3 separate regions of the Homo sapiens genome follow, and regions 1 and 2 are each linked to region 3. Evidence: promoter capture Hi-C in 16 types of primary human blood cells and fetal thymus (Javierre and others, 2016). All regions are on one chromosome and are shown on one strand. Each heading gives the region's core, a stretch centred on a gene start or on the middle of the fragment in contact. The rest is flanking DNA. Distances are from core to core; before and after follow the strand shown. Region 1 has its middle 13 kb from the start of MIR4686. Region 2 overlaps NAP1L4 (nucleosome assembly protein 1 like 4). Region 3 holds the start of KCNQ1 (potassium voltage-gated channel subfamily Q member 1).

Evidence for each region. Contacts are between HindIII fragments. The CHiCAGO score rates a contact against its expected background, and 5 or more counts as called.
Region 1: a fragment that was not itself captured here is called in contact with the fragment with the promoter of KCNQ1 in region 3 in 1 of 17 cell types (total CD8 T cells); the score reaches 5.1 in total CD8 T cells.
Region 2: a fragment that was not itself captured here is called in contact with the fragment with the promoter of KCNQ1 in region 3 in 1 of 17 cell types (naive CD4 T cells); the score reaches 6.1 in naive CD4 T cells.

The regions. Positions count from the first base shown.
Region 1 is chr11:2,184,356-2,187,781 of GRCh38, reverse strand. No RefSeq gene overlaps it. Among named protein-coding and RNA genes, the nearest start is that of MIR4686, 13 kb to the right of the region's middle. The HindIII fragment of the contact is 1,911 bases long and covers 989-2,899 here.
Region 2 is chr11:2,952,065-2,955,256 of GRCh38, reverse strand. It overlaps NAP1L4 (nucleosome assembly protein 1 like 4), which reads left to right. Exons shown (of 16, transcript NM_005969.4): 12 at 611-730. Among named protein-coding and RNA genes, the nearest start is that of SNORA54, 10 kb to the left of the region's middle. The HindIII fragment of the contact is 897 bases long and covers 1,023-1,919 here.
Region 3 is chr11:2,443,408-2,446,824 of GRCh38, reverse strand. KCNQ1 (potassium voltage-gated channel subfamily Q member 1) reads right to left here and starts at 1,817. Exons shown (of 16, transcript NM_000218.3): 1 at 1,341-1,817. The coding sequence starts at 1,726. TRPM5 (transient receptor potential cation channel subfamily M member 5) reads left to right here and starts at 2,311. Exons shown (of 29, transcript NM_014555.4): 1 at 2,311-2,394. RefSeq lists silencers at 1,828-1,897, 1,908-2,017. The HindIII fragment of the contact is 13,739 bases long and covers 1-3,417 here.

The sequences.
Region 1 (3,426 bases), core at 695-3,194, 260 kb after region 3:
GTGTGTGTTGTGTGGTGTGTGTGGTGTGTATGTGTGGTGTGTGTGTAGTGTCTGGTGTGTGTGTGGTGTGTGGTTTATGTGTGTTGCATGTGGCATGTGGTTTGTGTCTATGTGGTATGTATGTAGGCGTGTGTGGTATGTGCGGTGTGTGTGGTTTGTGTGTGTTGTGTGTGGCGTGTAGCTTGTGTGTATGTGGGGCATGGTATGTATGTAGGTGTGTGTGGTGTTTGTGTGTGGTGTGTGTATGGTGTGTGTGGCATGTAGCTTGTGTGTATGTGGTGTGTGGTGTGTGTGTGTGGTGTGTATGTGGCATGTGGTGTTTGTGTGTGTGGTGTGCATGTGCGTATGTGTGCGTATGTGGCGTGTGGTGTTTGTGTGTATGGTGTGTATATGTGTGGTTTGTGTGTGGTGTGTTTGTATGTGATGTGGTGTGGTGTGTGTGGTGTGCATGTGTGTGGTGTGTATGTGGTGTGTGTGGTTTGTGTGTGTTGTATGTGGCGTGTGGTGTGTGTATGGTGTGGTGTGCATCTGTGTGTGTGTGTGGTGTGTGGTGTGTGGTGTGTATGTGGTGTGTGGTGTGTTTGTGTGTGTGTGTGTCTGTGTGTGTGCACGCACTTAGATATCTTGTGTTCGCAGCTTGTCATGGAGAGCAGTCAGTCCCTGGCTGCCTGGCGCCGCTTCCTTCTCGGGCTGCCATCCTGGGAAGGGCCCCCTTCGCCCGGCCGTGCCTCCTGCTCCTGCCTCTGCTGCCCTTCGAATGCAGCCGCCCTTTTCAGCAGCCTCTCCAGGGAGGCCTGGGTGGGCCGCCCTCATCTTTTGTCTCCTCAGCGGGGGTTGCAGTGGCTTCACCTGGAGGCTCCGAGGGAGCACACGTGCGTCCTCTGGGTGAAGGCTGCCCAAGTGCTTGCGTCTGGGCGCCATCCTGTGGTGCCCACAGGGATATCAGGCTGAGAAGGCCTTTGTGCTGGGGTCCTTTATAAAATAAGCTTACCGGGGCATCTACGGCAGGTCAGAGTCAATATTCAAACGTGTTGTTGTCTAAAAATGCCTGGAAATTTTACTCCTAATGTCAAAGGAGGCCCCTCCCATGGGCTCTGAGACTGGAGCGTGGGGGTTGTGAGCAGAAGGACGCAGAGGAGGGGAAGTGCTAGAGAGTGGGGGGTCCGGCCCACCAGGGGCCCTGCGTTGGCAAGACCTGAGGTCATGCCATCATTTTCAGGCAGTGGGAGCCATTGAAAGTGCTTGAGTAAGAGAGTGGCCAAGGCAACGTGCGTTTGATGAAATCAATGAAGCACCTGTATTGGGAGGTGTTTGCTGGAAAGAGATAGAGTGAGGGTGGCTGGGAAGAACCGTGAGGCCTGTGTACACATTTCAGGGGTCCTCACTAAGCCTGGGTGTCTCATGGAGCTGTGGCAGGCTGCATGGACCGTGGGATTTGTTTGGACTCCCAGCTCTCCGTGGGGATGTGGAGAAGGTGAGAGGCCCTGGGGCTGAGGGGGCAATAGCCTGGATCGGAGAAGGTGGCAAGCAGAGGTCAGATGGGGAGGGACTGGAACGCCCCAAACCACAGCCATTTACACCTGGGTGCCAGGTGGGAGCCAGGAAGAGGGGCCAGGATGTTGGACGCCAGCTCCACCCCGTGACTGCTCCCTGCCCAGGCGGACAGTGGGGAGGGGGCATACAGCACTCTGAGGATCATAAGGGTGGGGACCCCAGGAGCTGAATCTAGAAGGAAAGGGCTCCTTCCAGAGGAGGTCATTTGGAGATCCTGCCATCCCCACCCCCTTCCAAACAGCCAAACCCGCTCTGGCACCACCGCCTTCCCTATGCCCCCACCCCAGCTCCAGCTGAACGCCCTCGCCCAGCTTCCTTGGGAGACTGCCAATCTAGGCTGAGTTTTGCAGCTCCTTCTCTGGAGCGCGAGCCAGGCGCAGGCTCTGACACTGTCAGGGCAGCGGTAATGACATCGGCCTCGAGTCCAGGGCCAGCCCAGGCCCCCTGTGCCCGTAGACGAACCCTCAGAGGATGCAAGCCTGAGGGTCCCCATTCTGGTCCGAATGGGAAGCCACTCCAGAGGCGCGCTGGCGCAGGGGGCGGGGATCCCGAGGTGGCCTGGACAGAGTCAGCCTCCTCATGTCGCCCAGCCCTGGCGCCCAGGCCCTCCCCAAGGAAGGTGGGGTGCATGGCCTGCCTGCTCCCTCCGCAGGGCTCCCTGCGGCATCTCAGTGCTTGTGGAGCTGACAGCTCTCTCTGCCTTCCTAACCCTTGATCCCTTTGATAAACATCAAAACCTCAGCATCAGCATTGCCTGGAGGCCATGCCCTCCATGCTGCCTCCCCTGCACAGGCACTCACAGATACATTCACCCCAATTCAGAAGATTCTGCCCAGCCCACCATCTGTGGTTTGTAAAAGAGAAACAATAGACCATCGGTTGCTATTGCTTCTAAATGCAAAACTGCGCTATGACATTACATGTGCTTTTCTGGGAACACAGTCCCCTACCCCAGTGTGCACGAGAAAGGTGCTGGTGCTTCCCTTCTTTGGGGGAACATTGCTGTTTTTGGGGTAGGTTGTTGGACAAGATCCGGATGGCAGAAACCACAAAGGAGACGGTTGACAAGCGTGGCTCCCCGAAGCCACATCATTGCCAAGCCTTCTTGATGACCACAGTCTCCATAAACACGGTAAAGGGTGGACCAGGCTCTGGGAGATGATACTTCCTGCCGAAAAGGATTCATGTCGGGAATGCGTAAAGAATTCCCACATCTCATCAGGAAAAGTGTAAGCTCCAAAGGGAAGATGAGGGGAGGAAGTGAAGGGATCGTTCGAGAGAGGGAGAAGTAGAGATGCTCGGGAAGCAAGCGGACCTGAGATGCCGCTGAAGTGTCATTCAAGCTTTGTAATGTCGGGCGTGGATGATGACCTGGAAGACAGACGCTGTTGGGTCGCGCTGGCGGAGTGTGACGGGAGAGGTGCTGGGGCATTCCTAAGAACATGAATGTGGGCTCCCAGAGCTCATAAGCTCATGATTTCCCTCCTCCCCAAAGGGGCTCACCCTCCAGTATCCAGGCTGGGGGGCCAGGAGCACACGCACCTTTTTATATTTGTGTTTGTGCACGTGTGTATGTGTGTGTTCAAAGGAGAATCTGTTGCTCATGTAACTAAAATTAAAAATAATATAGATGTAGAGAAATTGGAAGTCTTGTGCTCTGTTGGGGGGAGTGTGTAATGGTCCAACATGGCCCAACAATGCCACCTCTAGGTCTAGCCCCAAAAGAATTGAAAGAAGGCTGGGTGCAGTGACTCATGCCTATAATTCCAACACTTTAGGAGGCCAAGGCAGGAGGATCACCCAGGCCAGGAGTCCAACACCAGCCTGGGCAACATATGGAGATCCCCTATCTCTACAAGAAATTAAAACATT
Region 2 (3,192 bases), core at 222-2,721, 510 kb before region 3:
CCACCGTATTCCATTGGGCGACAGAGCAAGACTCCGTCTCAAAAGATAAAATAATAAATTAGCTGGACATGGTGGTGCACTGTGTAGTTCCAGGGTCGCTGGGGCCCAGGAGCTTGAGGCTGGAGTGAGCTGTGATTGCACCACTGCCCTCCAACCTGGGTGATAGAATAAGACCCTGTCTCTTAAAAAAAAAAAATCCATTTCTGTTTCCTAAAACTCTGGGATTAATTTGAAATCATTACACATCTAAGTAAAAGTATGTGTTTCATATGTTGATTTCAGTAGCAAATGTGCAGTGCTTTAATACTGCCTGTTTCCCATATGTGAGACTGATACCGCCTACTCTGGGTGAGACCTTTGGACAAGTTGTGGAGCTGTAGGGCCCTCACTTCCCACTTTCTCTGCCATTTTGCTTCAGTAGCTCTTTAAAGCTACTTAAAGTTGTTTTAAAGGGGCTTTGAGTGTCTAGTGGCTGTCCCCCAGCAGTGCAGGAGTTTGGTGTTTTAAGTTAAGTAAATCAAAAGTGAGGGGCTGAGGTTTGGCTGAGGGTGGTGAAGTGAATGTTTTTATCCCATTAAAATGAGTTAACACGTAGGTTTTTCCTCCTCAGGATGAAGATTCTGAATTCACATTAGCCTCTGATTTTGAAATTGGACACTTTTTCCGTGAGCGGATAGTCCCGCGGGCTGTGCTGTACTTCACTGGGGAGGCCATAGAAGATGATGACAATGTATGAGGCTCGGGGAAGGGGGGCTTCCACCTGGGTGCTTATCTCTGTTGGTGCAGAGTGGCCCTGAATTGTGGCTTAGGAAACCCCCATGCCTAATCTTTTTATTACATCATCAGCCAGATATGTAGTCCAAGCTGCTGTCCTTGTTGTGGGGGGAATACGCTTGAAGAGGAGAAGTCTGAGGAACAGAGCAGGAAAAGCAGGTGTCTGTGAAGCAGTTTCAGAGGTGATTGCCAGTTTCCTATGTGAGCCCTGCCTAGTGACTCAACAATATTCTCTCAAAACCTAAGCTTCAGGGAACTTGTGAACACAGGGAATATCTCTTTTATGGAGGTCTGGCCACAACAAACATTTATTGACAGTGGACTTATGCTAGCCTGTGGTTCATCAACCCAAAAGAAATAGAAATTCCTGAACTTCTATCTAATTAGGTAAAAAGGAAAAAAAAGAAACCCGTGCTCCCGAAGAAAACAACAAGATTGCATGTCACTTTCCTTTCTGGGCTTGAGGGAAGCCAGCTCTTCCACAGTCAGAACTTGCGGGTGCACAGCCCAAGTACCGCTTAGAAACTCCCATCCTCACCAAGGCTCAAGCAGCTTCAAGTCTTCTTGATCTGTGGAAAATAAAGTTTTGTTTTATAGACTGTTACTGGAAGTATGTTCTAGATGATACTCTCTTTCTTGTGGAGCTCTTAGGTTTCTTTTCTTAGAAGGTCTGGTCTGTTGGGGCTTCAGACAGGGCGGCAAGAGCTTAGGTGGGTTCAAGGGCCTTAGCCCCCTGTGGCAGTAAAGGCCAACATCTCCTCACACCTCTCCCATTGTACTGAGTTCCACCAGTGGGGAGAATAGGCCAGCGTGCTCTTTATCAGCTGTTAGGTCTTAGACTGTTCATTTAACTTCTAAAACTCAACTTGCTGGCTCATCCCTAGGTTGGGAGGTGATTGCAGGTCAGGGAACATGGACAGTCAGGTAGCTGCCAAGACATAGTTTTACAAATTCTAGACCAGCACTTTCCAGTAGAACTTTCTCTGTTGATGGAACTGTCCTCTGCCTGCTTGGTCCAGTGCAGTAGGACTGACCACTTGAGGACTTGAAATATGGCTGCTGAGACTGAAGAACTGAACATTTCATTTACCTTAGTTTAAATTTAAATAGTGAGCTAAGGGCTAGTGGCTACACATTGGAAAGCTTATCTGAAACTGTTTTGATCATACACCCGTCAGTTTAAAGGACTTGAATATGCATGTGTGCTATTTGCTTACTTATATGCGGTATCTGTACTGCTGGTGAGCACTGTGCCACATTTGCTTATAGTACATGTGCGTTTCATTCACAATACGTTCAGCACAGGTACTACTGATGAGCAGTGTCAGTTAGAGGCTAGAAGTGCCAGCTCAGATTAGACTGCTCAGACTCGCATCCCCATTCTCCCTTTAGTAGCTCCACCACCTCCTTGAGCTTCAGTTTCCTCAGCTGTAAGTAGAGCTCATGGTAAAGACTCTGGTTACTTGTTAAGCCCTTAACATAGCACCTGGCACAGAGCAATGACTCAGTAAGTGTTGGCATAAAGTGTTTTACTAATGTTACTTTCTAGACCGTACCCCAACACTAGAAAGTTGTTGGAGGAGGAGGTGAATGTGGGAACCCTGGTCTTGTCTTCTCTGCACGTGGCAGCTCCTGCTCTGCCCAGGTGGGTGATGCATCTGGAGCAGCCCCTGTGCACAGCCCCTTAAGGGCAAAATGCTGTCCTTAGAGCCTTGGAATAGGCCCTGGAGCCTGCTGGAGGCTCGTTGGATCTGACGTGAAATGGAAGAATATTGAGAAGCCTTTCCCTGCCTGATGCCAGTTAGGGTCCTTAGAGCGGAAGGGCGCTGCACCGTGGCCACATCTCATCCTGGCTGCTGCGTGGCGCCAGGAGGCTGTGCACACTGTGTGAACTCCACACCAGCACAGTAGGGCCCTTCTAAGTTCCACCGAAGTTGGCTCTAAGCAAATACATGGTGTGAGCTCAACAAAATGGGAAATGTTGATAAATGAAGCTGCATTTTCATGCACTACCCTTGTTATGCAACCAGTAGTGATAAGGTGGTTTTGCTTTTGGTGTAAGTCTCATGTTTGAAACTTGATTTTTAGTCTGACCAATGATGTATTTGGATGTAGGAGAAACTGATTCAAGACAATTGACTAATGGTGGAGGTTCACCTTTGAGCACCTTATTGATCACTTTAAAGATTAAACACCAAAGTTTTAATATATTTCTACTAAGGTTTCTTTTCCCTTTGTATGAGATGTAAAATGATACCCAGATTCCTGTATCCAATAACATTATGCTGCTGGTTCGATCAGCCTTGTAGAAAATTTAAGGAAAACAAATTCATCGGTTTACAAAAATCTTTTCCTGTGTGCCTGCTCCTCGGTGTGAGAACAGCCAGGGCAGAGCTGTGGTGCCAGGTTCCCAGCTGT
Region 3 (3,417 bases), core at 568-3,067:
GCTCCTCTCACAGACCAGCAGCGGCTGTGGCTCAGGCACCCACTGACATGTCAGGAGACAGGGGCTTGGGAGCTGGGGTGGGGAAAAGTCTCCAAGATCACCCCCCAACCACATCTTTGAGGAGGGAGGTGGGTAAGACTTCCCCTTCCTGATGTGGAAGGCCACCTCTTAGCAAGGAAGGCAGTAGCCCTGCGACCCCTACCCCACCCCCTCACCTGAGACGATGCTTGAAGCCATTTGGGGCCTGGCTCCTGCTGTCACCCGCCCTGAGGCCCTGGTGGCAGCTGCCAGCAGGCATGGACAGGCCTCTGGATGCCCTCCAGCCAGTTCTCTACTGAGCCTGCCCGAGGCAGAGGAGATGCTTCCACCTGAGGACGCTCAGGGAGACCACCCTTCAGCCCTCAGGTGAGCCCCACAGCCATCAGCCATGGGATGTCTGGGTAGAGGCTCCCAGGCCAGAGGCTGGCACCACACCAAAAGGCCGCTGGCTGGGCAGCCAGGAAGTAGGGCCACTGGGGCAGCGGGGGAAGGCCCCAGGCAGGCATGGAGGAGAGCAGCCTGGACCTTCCCGGAGGTGACTTCCCAGGCCTGTCCCTGAGAAATCCAGTGCCCAGCCCTGCTCAGGCACGCTGTACCGGGAATTGGAACCACCTGGTAACAGGGGGGCCAGGTGCCTCTGCTACCAGCGCTGCTTTCTCCGGGAGCACAGCTGCCTCTTAGTGAGAGCTGCAAACGTGCCTCTCCGCTCTCTGCATCAAGCCAGGTTTTCATGAGCTTGGTTCAATTAGTTAATGTGGGGCCCGTGGGGACGGCCCGTGGCATGCTGAGCCCTCAGGGAGCACCGCCACCGTCACCTTCCTATCCTGGACAGCCCCCTGCCCCAGAGTCCACCTGGGCCTCAGGGGGTCTGAGATGCGGCACCGGACATCAGGGGCCTTCTCTCTTGGGGGCTCCTGAGCCTCGAGTCTCAGCCGACCTTGAGGAGTTATCTTACTGCACCCAAGGGTGCGCTCCCCAGCACGCTTCTCTTCCCAGAAGGATTCACACCTGGACTACCCTCCCGGAGGTGTGGAGCCAAATTCTGGGCTCCAGGTGGTCCCCTCCCCAGCCGGCTCCCTCCCCACGCCGGGCCTGCGAGAAGATGCGCACCCCCAGACACAGCAGCGCCTCTGAACTTCAAGGGAGAGTGCAGAGTTTGTGTTTCTGCGTTTCCCCACTTCCTTCCCTCCTCTGCTCCGGGGTCGCAGCTCCGACGGGGCAGGTGGCGCTGGGACAGAGCTCCCCCACACCAGCTCTCAGGAAGCACCTTCGTGCCGGCCGTCGCCGGTGGCGATACTCACACGGCGAAGTGGTAAACGAAGCATTTCCAGCCGGTGGGACGCTCGAGGAAGTTGTAGACGCGGCCCTGGACGTGGGTGCGCGCCAACACCGGGCGGCGCGTGCTGTAGATGGAGACGCGCGGGTCTAGGCTCACCGGCGGCCGCGGGCCAAGGTCGGAGGCAACTGGGGGCGCGGCGGGCGCGGCCGGGGACGCAGGGGGCGCGGGACCTGGGGCGCCGGGCGCGATGGGCGCGTAGAGCGCGCCGCCCGCCGGGCCGCCCTCCGCCAGCTCCAGCGAGAAGGGGCACTTCTTGGCCAGGCCCGCGCTGCCCCGCCGGGCGCCTGGCAGGCGGCCCCAACCCCAGCGCTTCCTCTCGGCCCTGGGCGGGGAGGAGGCCGCGGCCATAACGAGGAGGGCCTGCCGGGGGGCCGGCCCGAGCGGCGGCACCGGGAGCTGCAGCGAAGGCGAGCGCCCGGGCGCAGTGCGGGCAGCCACTGCTGCCAGCCCCGCCGCGGGGGGCCGCTGCCGGCCCAGCCCGGGCGCTCGGGGCGGGGCCGGAGGGGGCAGTGGCCGAGGGCCGGTCCCATGGGACGGCGTGCCCCGCCCCCGCCTGCACGCCCCGCCCCCGCCGGTCCGGCGCGCACAGGGCGTCCCTGCCCGCGCCCACCGGCTTGGCCCGCCCTCTCCCCACGGACCGGCCTGGCCCTGCCTCCGCCTCACCCCCTGGCTTGGCCTGTCCGCGCCCCCGCCCCCGCCTGCGCCCCCGCCCCCACCCCCACCCCCGCCCGAGCCCACCTGCTTAGCCCCGCTCGTGTCATCTATCCCGCTTGGCCCCGCCCCCTCCTCGCCCACCTGTTTGGCCCCGTTCCAGTGTGCATTTACCCCGCCTGGCCCCGCCCCCTCCCCGCCCACCTGCTTGGCCCCGCCCTCACCCACCTGCTTGGCCCCGCCCCGTCTGCATCTCCCCTGCTTGCTCCTGCCCTGCCCTCACCCACCTGCTTGGCCCCCACTTCTGATGCCCGCCTGCTCTGCCTGGCCCGGAGGAGGACCCCAGCTGCGCCAGGGAGGAAGGGGTAAGGCCTGGCCGATACCACGACCGAGAACGGCACAGCGGGGGCAGGAGGGGCGGGGTAGGGTGCCGGCATCTACTTTCCCTCCCTCTGAGCCACTCCGGAGTTGGGGTTGGGGGGAGGAAAGGGATGTCCTGGGTGAGGGTGTGCTGGCCCCGCGATCACTGTGAGCGCCCCCGGGTGCCCAGGCGCGCGAGCTGCGGGCGGCGAATACGCTCGGGTCGCTTCCCACCAGGGCCCTTGGACCGGGAGGGTGAGATGGGACCACCACTGTCAGGTACCTCCCAGTGGGAGCTGTGTGGGTGGGGAGCCGGCAGGGCTGCTGGGGGGTGGGGGCGGCACAGCCGGGGTCTGGACCTGGTTTGACTGCCGGGCATAGCAGGCGGGGCTGCCTGGGCAGTTAAAGGGAGAGGCGCTTGCGCCACCCTAGTAACTTGGAGAATGGGCGCCTTGTCCTCCCCACCGTCGAGACCGCGCTGCCGCTGCGCCCCGTGGATTCCCCTGGGTGGGGGTGGGTTGGTCACATCGGAAGATTTTCACAGGTCTCTGCACTGCCTCCCGCCCGCTACTGGCATTTGGGTCTCAGCACGTCTCAGGCTTGGGGGGGGGGTGGGGGGCAGCCAACAGAAGAGACCGGCTTTTTTCAGGATACTGCACACAGCCCTGAGGCAGGGACTAAAGGTGGAGCTCAGCGGTGACTCTCCGCCCCGCCAGGAGACCCATAACTCATGTGACACTTCCAGGTCGTCCCTGAGCACCCTGGGTCAATTTGATGTATCTACCACCCCCTGCCAAAAGTCTGCTCTTTTATCGTGGACGGAGTCCAGCCCAGGCCCTTGACGCCTGACTCCCCACCCTAGTGAGGTGCCACACAGGAGTGCACAGTCTGTATTTGCAGCAAGAGTGGATGGAGTGGGTCCCAGCTTGTGCTGGGCGCTGTGATAACACAAGGGAGGCCGAGGAGAGGGTACCTTCCTGGGAAGCATATCAGTGAAGGTGCAGAAGGGCAGCGGGTCAGAAGATGGG